Linked DNA regions of Homo sapiens: region 1 is linked to region 2. Evidence: promoter capture Hi-C in 16 types of primary human blood cells and fetal thymus (Javierre and others, 2016). All regions are on one chromosome and are shown on one strand. Each heading gives the region's core, a stretch centred on a gene start or on the middle of the fragment in contact. The rest is flanking DNA. Distances are from core to core; before and after follow the strand shown.

The links. The method cuts DNA at HindIII sites, captures the fragments that hold promoters and counts their contacts. A CHiCAGO score of 5 or more calls a contact.
Region 1: a contact is called between a fragment that was not itself captured here and the fragment with the promoter of CCDC70 in region 2, in 7 of 17 cell types (erythroblasts, naive CD4 T cells, total CD4 T cells and 4 more). The highest score is 9.0, in erythroblasts.

What each region holds. Positions count from the first base shown.
Region 1 is chr13:52,114,002-52,120,072 of GRCh38, reverse strand. NEK5 (NIMA related kinase 5) reads left to right here. Exons shown (of 24, transcript NM_001365552.1): 4 at 658-754. Among named protein-coding and RNA genes, the nearest start is that of NEK5, 12 kb to the left of the region's middle. The HindIII fragment of the contact is 1,857 bases long and covers 682-2,538 here.
Region 2 is chr13:51,857,561-51,863,747 of GRCh38, reverse strand. CCDC70 (coiled-coil domain containing 70) reads right to left here and starts at 1,779. Exons shown (of 2, transcript NM_031290.4): 1 at 1,519-1,779. It also overlaps a transcript of TMEM272 not described here. RefSeq lists an enhancer at 978-2,177. The HindIII fragment of the contact is 6,103 bases long and covers 1-4,653 here.

The sequences.
Region 1 (6,071 bases), core at 361-2,860, 260 kb before region 2:
TCAGGGGCTGGAAGTCAGGGTAGAAATGACAAGTCAGCAAAGCATCAAGAGTGAGGAAGAAAAAGTAGAAATGAGGTGTGGCCACTGGTACTGGCACCAAACCCCTTGGCAAGTATTGTCTATAGGTGAAAGTAGAACAAGAAAATACACCCAAATACTTCTAAAATGAAGTCATGCAAGACAATTTTTATTTGAAAATGAAAAATGTAGTCATCTTAATACAAAATTTTACTGACCTGATTTCTGTGGGATATGACACATTTTCTTTTTTTAGATTTCATTTGTTTCTTCTCAGCAGTGATTGCTCCTGGAATGTTGCATTTTTATAAAGAATTCCTTCGCTACTGAAAGATAGATATTAAAATATGGCTCCATATGGCTAGATAATGAACACGGTACCACCAGTCCAACTTTTAATATAGCAAAACTTCACCAGAAATATTTATTTTCTTGATGATGGTTGTCAACAAACCATTGATGAGATGTAGGGCACTCTGCTAATTCTAGAAATGTTGTTTCCTGCCATTGAAAGATCGTTTTCAAAGTGACATTAAAAGCCAGTGAAATCCTAGAGAATTTTAGATGGAAATGAGCAGAAAGCATGTTCTTGAAACCAAGTTAGCTTTATAGACTACTCTGTCTCTTAATGTAATTTAGATGCCCATACAAGAAAAAGAAGCTTCAAAGAAAGAAGTGATTCTTCTGGAAAAGATGAAACATCCCAACATTGTAGCCTTCTTCAATTCATTTCAAGGTTTGATTTTCTAATATTCGTTAAGTATTTTTATAAAGTATAGGCATGTTGACATATGTAAAAAGATTTGTTCCTAAGGACTGTGTATAAATTAATTTTTGTAAATGGGTCATTTCCCCATTTACTTAAATTGCAGCTTGAGACGTCCTCGTTATTTCCTCTCTAGTAAGTTTTTGTAGACGGCTTTCTTATGTTTTCTTGTTTTTCTGCCTCTCCTTAATTCTCACTCTCCCAAAAAATTAATGACTGGCTTATTAGCTTCTTTGCTGTAGTAACAACCCCCAAATTTAAGTGACTTACAATAAGACACATCTATTTCTCACTTACATTACATGCTAGCTGTGGTGGGCTGGGGTCTTGAGTCTGGGGCCCAGGCTGAAGGAGCAGCTCAGATAAGGAACCAGCTGTTCTCATAAGCAAGAGAAGAGGGGAAAACACAGAGCCCACCACACTATCGCTCTCAAAGCCCTGCTAGGATGTGTGTGTTTGTGTGTGTGTGCTGGGGGGTACTCTGTTTACATGAGATCCTGCATATCCTCAGGCAACAGATGGGACTGTGTAATCCTCTTACAGAGAGCCAGCAAACAGCCACGCACCATAGCCTAGCACACTGCCACGGAGAGGGGGAGAACTTTAGGGAAGGAAGTACCTTCCTCTGTACACCTGAATACAATTCTGCTGACAACTTTAGGGAAGGAAGTCCCTTCCTCCATACATCTGAATACAATTCTGCCTCCACGCATCACTGTAGTCCAAAGGTAAAAAATAAATAATAAATGAAGGAGCATTGGTCAGACAGCATTCATTCACTGAACTGATACTTATTGAGTGCTTACTCTATGCCAGGCATTGTTCTAGGTGTCAGGAATATAGCAGTGAACAAAGCAGATGAAAATCCCTGTTTTCATGAAATTTATATTCTAGTGGGAAGAGATAGACAATAAACAAATCTACAGTATGTCAGGTGTGTCTTAAGTTGTGACAGGGCTGTATGTGCTGACAGTTTTATGAAGGGTCATTCCCCAGCCCAGCCCCCAGCGCAGGGCTGTTTTAAGACTGATAATTAGTTCATGGAGCAGAAGTGTTAACCTCAATATCTTCAAGCATCATCAGTTGGGTAAAAGTCAGTCAATAAATAAATACAGCCACTGTGTCTTGAGTATGTAAACTGTGCAGAGCACTGTGTTCCTTACTGATTAAAACCGCTACATTCAAGGTACTTCTGTGTGTATGGCCCTTCTTTGGCTTCTGGGTATTTAAAAAGAGCTCTTGGGACTCTTCTGAGGTCTTCCTGGGAGCAGAACAGTACACATGGTCTGGAATTGGGTTGCATGGAATAACTTTCAAGGAAAGCCACTGAATAAAGTGCCCTGCATTCCTGTCCATTGGATACTGATAATGCTATAAGATGATCTTTCTCTTCTTTATTTTGTTTGAGATTATTGTGACTCTCTGGCTAACTCCTACTTATCCTCAGGCCTTTTCTGAACTCACAATTCAAATTACAGCTCCCTTTGGTTCTCTTCCACAGCAGTTGTACTTACATATGTCTATTTATATAATTATGAATTTGTTTCATATTTGTCGCCCTTTACATGGTAAACTTAATGAATTTTGGGGCTCCATCTGTTTTGCTCACCACTTGATCCTTGGCATGTAGCACACAATGGCTGCTCAATACCTATTTACTGAATGAGCAAATGGACTGGACCACTTTTAGAGACTGGAGTATTTCCTTATACCATGTGAGATTGATTTTTGAGGACAGTTTACCACTGGAAGCTTTTGCAGAACTAAGGTCATTTTTACAGTATACATAACCTCTGCTGTGTTTGTTGATACTGTAAGTTTACATTTTCTTATGACTCTTTTTAAGTAGAGCACCCCTGTGTTTAGGAAAGCTAGAGCTATTGTGATGCCTTTGAGTTTGCTTGGCTGATTGCTGGGACTTGAACTACTGAGCTTATCTAAAAGCCTCAGAGGCCTTGTAGCCTCTGTCTTTTAGAGAGTGTAGGTAAAGGCTTGTTTTCCCTCAAATCGCTTATCTCTGATCATAAGAACCATGGCTCTAATGTTTGTCTATAGAAAATAGAATGTTTTGGCCGGGCGCAGTGGCTCATGCCTGTAATCCCAGCACCCTGGGAGGCCGAGGCGGGCAGATCACCTGAGGTCAGGAGTTCAAGACCAGCCTGGCCATGGTGAAACCCCGTCTCTACTAAAAATACAAAAACGTTTAGCCGGGCATGGTGGTGTGCACCTGTAATCCCAGCTACTTGGGAGGCTGAGGCAGGAGAATCGCTTGAACCTGGGAGGCAGAGGTTGCAGTGAGCTGAGATTGCGCCACTGCACTCCAGCCTGGGCAAGAAGAGTGAAACTCTGTCTCAAAAAAAAAAAAAGAAAATAGGATGTTTTTATTGGTTTGAAGCAACATAAGAAAAATAATGAGAATGTAGTGATATTTTCCTAAGACAAAATTAATTCCATGTATATTCCATCAATAAACATTCACTAAGTGTCTGTTATATGCCAGGCATGTTCTAGGTCTTGGAGATATATCAGCAAACAAAATAGGCAAAAATTCCCATGCTGTTGTATTTGTTTTCTATTACTACATAACAAATGAACACAAATTTAGTGGCTTAACAACAACACCTATTTATTATCTCTTGATTTCTGTAGGTCAGAAGCCTGAGGTTGGCTTAGCTGGATTCTCTGCCCGGAGTCTCAGCTAGTTGAAATCAAGGTGTCAGCTGGGACTGTTATCTGTGGCTCATGGTCCTCTTCTAAGCTTATTTAGGTTGTTATAGATTTCATTTACTTGCAATTGGGTTAATTGGATCATGGCTCACTGCAGCCTTGAACTCCTGGCCTCAAGTGATCCTCTCGCCATGGCCTCCAAAAGTGCTGTGAGTACTGTGCCTGGCCAGAAAGAGCTCTTTTACATTTATTTAAACACAGAGTTTTATTTTATATTACTCTAATGCACACATAAAAAAGAAAATATAAGCAAACAAAGTTGGTTAAGGTATTCTAAAAATTATTTAGGCAGTGAAAACATTAAGCCTGCCGGGTCTACAGCAAGTGATTGGAAGATGCCAATGTCTGTAAGAAACAATCTTGATTTTTTTTTTTTTTTTTTTGAGACAGTCTTACTCTGTTGCCCAGGCTGGAGTGCAGTGGTGTGATTACAGCTCACTGCAGCCTTGACCTTCTGGGCTTAAGGGATCCTCCCACCTCAGTCTCCTGAGTACTGGGACTACAGGCATGTACCCCCACACCTGGCTAATTTTTGAATATTTTTTCATTATAGAGCCAGGTTTTCGCCATGTTGCCCAGGCTGGTCTCAAACACCTAAGTTCAAGCAATCCACCTGCCTTAGCCTTGGCCTCCCAAAGTGCTGGGATTACAGGAGAGAGCTGCTGCGCCAGGCCCTTGATTTTTTAAAAGTGCATTTTAGAATGAATTATAATAATTGTTTAATAAATGTTGGAATTTGACAAATAAAAAGGTTATTTAGTGCCCCTCAATTGTTTTGAAGTGTCAGTGATCCATGAGCTTTACAGCAGATGGAAAATTTGAGAGCATAAATGATTTTTCCAGACACTTCCAATAAATATAAAATTAACAGTGGCTAATGGGGGAAAATCCTTATTTTACAGTCAGATAATGCTAATTGACATTAAGTAGTTTCTTTTTTTTTTTTTTTTTTTTTTTTTTGACGGAGTCTCACTCTGTCACCCAGGCTGGAGTGCAGTGGCACAATCTTGGCTCACTGCACCTCCACCTCCCGGGTTCAAGCAATTCTCCTGCCTCAGCCTCCTGAGTAGCTGGGATTACAGGCGCCCGCCACCATGCCTGGCTAATTTTTGTATTTTTAGTAGGGACAGGGTTTCACTATGTTGGCCAGGCTGGTCTCAAATTCCTGACCTCAGGTGATCCACTCATCTCGGCCTCCCAAAGTGCTGGGATTACAGGCATGAGCCACTGCACCTGGCCAGTAGTTTAAGCTATCTCTGTCGGCCGGGCGCGGTGGCTCACGCTTGTAATCCCAGAACTTTGGGAGGCCAAGGCGGGTGGATCACGAGGTCAGGAGATCGAGACCACAGTGAAACCCTGTCTCTACTAAAAATACAAAAAATTAGCCGGGCATGGTGGCGGGCGCCTGTAGTCCCAGCTACTCGGAGAGGCTGAGGCAGGAGAATGGCGTGAACCCAGGAGGCGGAGCTTGCAGTGAGCCGAGATTGCGCCACTGCACTCCAGCCCAGGTGACAGAGCGAGATTCCGTCTCAAAAAAAAAAAAAAAGGTATCTCTGTCATGATGAATTTTTAGTCAGTTTCTTTCACCAAAAGCCAGTGTAAGGTTGAGTGAGTTGGAGGTTGGTGAAAAGGAAGTGAGATGAAATAATGTGTCTCCTCTGTTTCATTATTCTGATTCTTCCATGGTTTTGAAATTGCCATCCCTTCATTGCTGTGGCAGACCTTTTACTGACTGAGCTTCAATGACAAGAAACATCAATTCTCCTAAAAGTAACACATTCCTGAAAATAACCGATCTCTAGACATTAAGGCATATGGGGAAGCATCTTCTCAGAACCCTTCCTAGATCTCCAGTCTTACTTGCATGCGCTTTCTCCTCACCCTCCAGCCTACAGACTTCTTCACAGCACTTCTCACCCAATGCTGAGGGACTCCCCAACTAGACTTCGCCTCCTTAACAGTAGAATGGATGGCTTCTTTGCTTTTTATTCCTACACAGCATTCCTTGCTTTTGCATGTCCTCAATAGAAGTTTGTTAATAACTGAATGGATCGTCTCTTAAAGAAGAGAGGAGGAAAAATTGAAATATGTGAAAGAAGATGCATGGTTTGTGAATTAGAAGCAACCAAGGGTAGACACTGCCAGGTTACTGATATCCACAGTAAAGTTGGTTAGGGTACTTTAAAGAGTAGGATAGCAAAAGATAGATATTTGGCAAGAGATTTTGGCATTTAATGGGTACTACAGGGGAAAATGTTATCAACAATTGCTTATAAGACTGATTTTGGCGCTTATGTTTTGTGTTCCTTCAGGGTTTTTTTGTTTGTTTGTTTTTAATGAATCCACTCAACAAACATTTAAGCCCCTTTGATGTGCTAACTACTGTTTAGGTACAAAAGAATGAAGTGTAGACAAACAAGTGAGTAGAAATCCTTCTTTTCTAACAAGATCCCAGCTGTTAGTTGGTTGGCTAATGAAGAAAGCTGGTTAGAGCAGAAAATCATCTGTTTTAGTCTATTCCAGCAGCTATAACAAAATACCATAAACTAGGTGGCTTATA
Region 2 (6,187 bases), core at 530-3,029:
GAACAGGGAGTGGAGGAGGAGAAAAGACACATAGCTGGTGTGTGTGTGTGTGTGTGTGTGTGTGTGTGTGTGTGTCTGTGTGCGCGTGCATATGAAGACACAGTGGCTAGGCTGTGGACAGCTGGTGGCATCACCATCCATCCAGTCACACAAACCAGAACCAGGGGCACATCCTTGACCTTTCCCTCTCCCTCACCAGACTTCTCTCCTCAACCATCAAGCCCTCCTAGCCGAGATCCAGATCCTTAACATTTCCTGAAACCATGCCCCTGTTCCATCTCCCCCATGACAGCCAGGTCAGGCCAGGATGCCTGTAACAGTCTCGCTGCTCTCTGTATTGATCTTACCCTCTCATCTGCCCCTGCACTGTAGCCCTACAGGTGTTTTCTAGAACACTCTCTCGTCCTATCACATCAGTTCACACACCTTCAAAGACCCTGTAGCCCAAAGATCAAAGCTGAACGCCCTAGGAAGGCCTTGTGCAGCCCAACTCCAGCTTGCTTCTCCCTCTCCTTCCTACCCAGCCTGCACCCAACTCCAAATCTAAGGCCCAGTATTAACGGGCTCTATTCAGCTCTTGGCACTCTGCCTGCAGTTTCCTGCCTGTGTGGTGAAGCACATGTCGCATCCTCTACTGAGAGCCCCTTTTGTTCCTGTGGTGGGCTTGAATTCCTGTACATCCTTTCCCCTCTGAAAGCTACTCGGACCCTCCAGACAAAGTTCCTCGCCACCTCTGCGATACTGTCTGTCTGTTACTCCACTATTACTTGTCACACTTGATTGAAATTAGGTGTGGACATGTCTTCCTGACATCTCTGTAACCCAGCAGCTATCATAATATAACGCCGCCTATATAGGAGGGAATTGGTGAAAATGTTGGTTGAATTGAACTGAATTGAACTGCATTTTGGAAATTTGATTTTCTATGTTGTATGGCTCTTTGCCTAGAATCCCTCCAATATGTGAAGTCCTCCCTCACTTCCATGTCATGCTGGCCCCCTCTCCCTGGATATCCTTGCCCAACCTCACTTCAGTTCACCTAGCGAATCCTTCAGCACTCAGATACCTCCTCCAGGCCATCTCTCCTAAGCTCAGACTGAGCATGTGCCCTTCCTGTCCCACTAGAAACACCTCATCTTCCATCTCTATGTCTGGCATCCAGCGAAATGTTCTGCCACAGGATAGGTGTTCAGGAAATAGTAGCTGGATGAATGGGCGTCTACTGGGTTAGGATGTTGGAAAACATTCACCTCCAAGTTTTTCTCAAGTGAACACTAAACTTTCTTTAAGAAAGAAAGAAAATAAGAACCATATCAAATAGGTAGATGTGTATTAAAATATAAAGTACAATATAAAACTGTAGATGTGTATCTGTATAGCTGTAAAAACATGCACTAAAGATACATGCCCAGTTTTCAGTTATACTGTAAGACTAGGAGCTTCTTTTTAAGGAAAATATTATATATTACCTTATGCTTAGAACAAATACTATACAGTCTAAAGCCAACAGTTACTTACTGCTTAGCTGCTTCCCACTGGGGTAAGTCCTGTAGCCCTCAGAGGGGGCAGGCGGCCATTGTCATGTCAGATCCCCAGTGATGCGTGCTTGCAGGCTTGCCCCAACAATGCTGGCAGTGACCTGTCTGTGCCCTTTCAGTCCTGACTCACAGGATGGAGATGGCCAAGAAGGGGACCCCTATAAAAGACTTTAAGGAAAGGAGGGGGCACTTGAAAGGTTTGAAAGAGTTCCTCTTCAATCTTTGACTTCACTGATAGGGCAGTGCTGTTGATGACTCACAAGTGATTGTTACCTTAGATTCTGTCAGCATTGGTTCCGGGAGCATGGTTCTAGGAAGTCATGTTCTGGTGGGGGCTTTGTGTGGGATGAATCACTTCTCTTGCTGCTTTCCAGATTCTTCGTCTTTGGCTTTTGATAGTTTGACTATGATGTGTCTTGGTCTTGAGGTTTATTCTACTTGGAGATTGTTGAGCTTCTTGGATATGCAGATTTGATGCCGTTTTTCATCAAATTTCAGAAGTTTTTGGCCATTATTTCTTCAAATATTCTTTCATCCATTTTCTCTGTCTCCTCTCCTTCTAGGGCTCATATTATGTGAATACTAGTAGCGTGAGTGTGTCCCCCAGGTCTCTAAAGTTACGTTCATTTTTCTTCATTCTTTTTTCTTTCTGTTGCTTAGATTAGATAATCTCAATTAACCTGTTTACAAGTTCATGGATTTTTTTCTTCTGTCAGTTCAAATATGCTGTTGAATCCCTCTTTAATTTTTCATTTTCAACTCCAGAATTTTTGTCATGTAGTAAAATTTTTAAATAGTCAAGTAAATTAACATATCCATCATCTCATATAGTTACCCTTTTTTGTGCACTGTAGCAAGAGCACCCACAATCTACTCTCTTAGCAAAAATCTTTAATACAGTGTTATTAACTACAGTCCTCATGTTGTACCTTAGATCTCTAAATTATTTATCCTATATATCTGCAACTTTGTACCCTTTGATTTCCCTCTTCCCGTCCACTCCCCACACGTAGCAGCTGCCATTTTATTCTTTGTCTGTGTATTTGACTTTTTTCTTACTTCTTCTTTTTAATTTTTTTAATATTCTACATATAAGTGAAGTTGTGCAGCATTTTTCTTTCTGTGTCTGGCTTATTTCACTTAGCATAATATTCTCCAGTTTCATCTATCTTGTGACAAACGGCAGGATTCTCTGTTTATGACTGAATAATATTCCACTTTATATACATGCTGCAATTTCTTTATCCATTCATCTGTCAGTGGACCCCTAGTCCATCCAGAATTTCTCCAGAAATTTTCACTGTGTCTCCAGAATTTGTTTGGTTATATATAGAAAAGGATATATGTGCTTTTCTATATACATATATATACACACACACACACACACACACTTCTATATATATATTTTTTCTATATATCTATATAAAAGTATATGTATACAAAGTGTGTGTGTGTGTATATATATATATACACACACACATATATATATGTATGCACACATACTTTTCTGTCTCTTTTTGGTAAGGCATAGTTTTTAATTCTTTCCTTTAATGCTTTTTTTTTTTTTTTTTGAGACATGTTTCTGTCACTCAGGCTGGAGTGCAATGGCATGGTATGATCTTGGCTAACTGCAGCCTCAATTTCCTGGACTCAAGTGATCATCCCACCTCAGCCTCTCAAGTAGCTGGGACTACAGGCGTGCGCCACCAGACCTAGCTAATTTTTTGTGTTTTTTTAGAGATAAGGTTTCTCCATGTTGCCCAGGCTGGCCTCAAACTTCTAGGCTCAAGTGATCTACCCATTCGGCTTCCCAAACTGTTGGGATTATAGGTGTGAGCCATCACACCTGGCCTTGTTTTCCTTTAATTCTTTTGGAATGGTTTCTTTTAGTTCTTTAACTACATTTGTAATAGCTGACTAAAAATCTTGGTTTAATCGCCCAATATCTGCAATTCCTCAGAGACAGTTTATAACCAAAAAGACAATTACTCAGAGAATAACAGTTTCAGGCCAGGCATGGTGGCTCATGCCTGTAATCCTAGCACTTTGGGAGGCCGAGGAGGGAGGATGGTTTGAGCGTCCTCCTGGTAGGAGTTTGAGACCAGCCAGAGCAACATAACAAGACCCTGTCTCTACAAAACTAAAATAAATTAGTCAGTTGTGGTGGTGCATGCCTGTAGTCCCAGCTGCTTGGAAGGCTGAGGAAGGAAGGATCATTTCAGTGCAGGAGGTCGAGCTGCAGTGAGCTATGATCGTGCCACTGCACTCCAGCCTGGGTGACAGAGTGAGACCCTGTCTCAAAACAAAAAAAAAAATAGAATAACAGTTTCTACTGTCTGCTTTTCCCCCTTTATATATAACTCTGTTTGCAATAAAGGGTTTCCTGTTTCTTTATGCCTCAAAAAATTTTGTTGAAGTTGGACACTTAAAATAATATAGTAACTAAAAATGAGATTTCCACTCCCAAGTTTTGTTGGTGGCATTTATTGTTGTTGCTGTTGCTATTTGTTCATTTAGTGACTTTCTTGGACAAATTCTATGAAGTCTATATTTTTTATCATGTGTGGGCATTAAAGTCTGCTTATTAGCTTAACGATCAGCTAATGACTGGACAGAGATCTCCATGAACTGATGTCTCCTTTCCTTTGCTGAGGGGGTGTCTGTGTGTGTGTGTGTGTGTGTGTGTGTGTGTGTGTGTGTGTGTTTGGTTGGGAGTCGGGGGTGCAGGTTGGGCATACCTTTAGTGATCATGCAGGCAGTTTATGATTCTGCCTAGCCTTCGCTTCCTTCTTGTGAGAGCCTCAAAGTCAGCCTGAGGTGAGAGATTATGGCCTTCTCAGGTCTTTCTCAGCCATGTGCACAGTCACATGCATGTGACCCAAATTCTCAGGACTATATCAAAACTTTTCAAAGTCTCCGTCTTATTCTCCAGTTTTTCTTTTTCAGTTATTGGTCAAGCCTATGGTTAACCCCAGCTAGTAATGCCAAATCAGGCAGCTATGATATTAAACAATTACCATTTTTTTTTTTTTTACAAATGCCCTGAGGATAGGGTTATTTGCACAGAGTAAGCTCTGAGTCAAGTCAAATAAAGACAAATTCTGTGAAGGAAGCTTTTCAGTGAACTGCCAAACAGGTCAAATAGTAAAAATTCTTTGAGGATGGAAAGAATCCATCCTAACCCTTACTCAGTCATTCTGGAAGTCTCAATCATTGGTTTTTAACCGTTCTTCTTTTTTAATATGTGTGCTTAAGACCATCAGTTTCCGAAACAGCCAAGTAAAAAGGGCTCCCGGGAGAACCTCCGACCTGCCACCGGGTGGATGGGGCGGGACCTCGAGAAGTTCTCACTGTTTGCAGGGGGGAAGGAGCTTGGCCTCTCATGTTTCTGGGTGGCAACCTAGGATTCAGTCTGTGAGATGGGGGCCTGTTAACAGGAACCCCTTTCGCTTTGCTGAGTTTTTTTCCTTTTACACCCAATAAATTTCGTTTTTCTTACCCTTCTGTGTGTCCACAAGCCTAATCTTTTCCTGGTTATGTGACAAGAACCCAAAGAACCCGGTTTTTAGCTGAGCTAAGGAGAAAGTCCTACAACATTTTCATCTAAGTACACTTACCTGCGTCTCACATGTTTTGATATGTCACCTTTTAATTACCATTCAGTTAAAATATTTTCTGATATCCACTGGAATTTCTTCTTGGATCTATTGGCTATTTACAAGTACATTGCTTAACTTCCAAATATATGGGGATTTTCCAATTATCTTTTTGTTACTGATTTCCAGCTCAATTTCATTATGGTTTGCACAAAGTATATGGTTTGTATACTCTGATTTCAATCATTTCAATTTGCTAAGACTTGCTTTATGGCCCTGTATACATTCAATTGTGGTAAATGTTCCATGTCCACTTGAAAATAATTGGTATTCTTCAGTTGCTTGATGCAGTGTTCTCTCTCTCTATGTCTGAATTAGGTTGAGTCTTTACCTATGTTGTTCAAATCTTCTATATCCTTATAGATTTTTCTGGCTGCTTGTTCTGTCAGTTACTGAGAGAGATGTACTTGCAGATCTATTTCTTCCAGTTAGGTCAGTTTTTGTTTTATATACTTTGAGGCTATATTATTAGATACATGCATATTTTACAATTGTTATATTTTCTTGGCATATTGACACTTTGATTTTTATAAAATGCCACCGTTTTATCTTTAGTAATACTTCTTGCCTTAAGTTCTACTTTGATCTTAGTATAGGCACGTCAGCTTTTATTAGTGTTTGCATGGTGTATCTTTTCTATCCTTTTATTTCAACCTTTCTGTGCCCTTATATTTAAAGTGTATTTCCTATGATGAACATATAGTTGAGTTTTGTTTTTTCTACTGTAATACAATTTGTCATTTATTTGGTTTTTAAAAATATTTACACTTAATATAATTACTGATTTATATTAGATTTGAATCTATTTTCTTACCATGTTTTTTCTACTCCTACCTGTTAAATGTTACTTTTCCTTTTTTCTTTTGGATTAATTAAATAATTTTATTATTCCATTTTCCTCTATTATGTCATTAGCTATATATTCTTTTAGCAATTATCCTGGAGATTATAATAGGCATCCTTGAGTTGTTAAAGTCTAATGGATTTTTATCT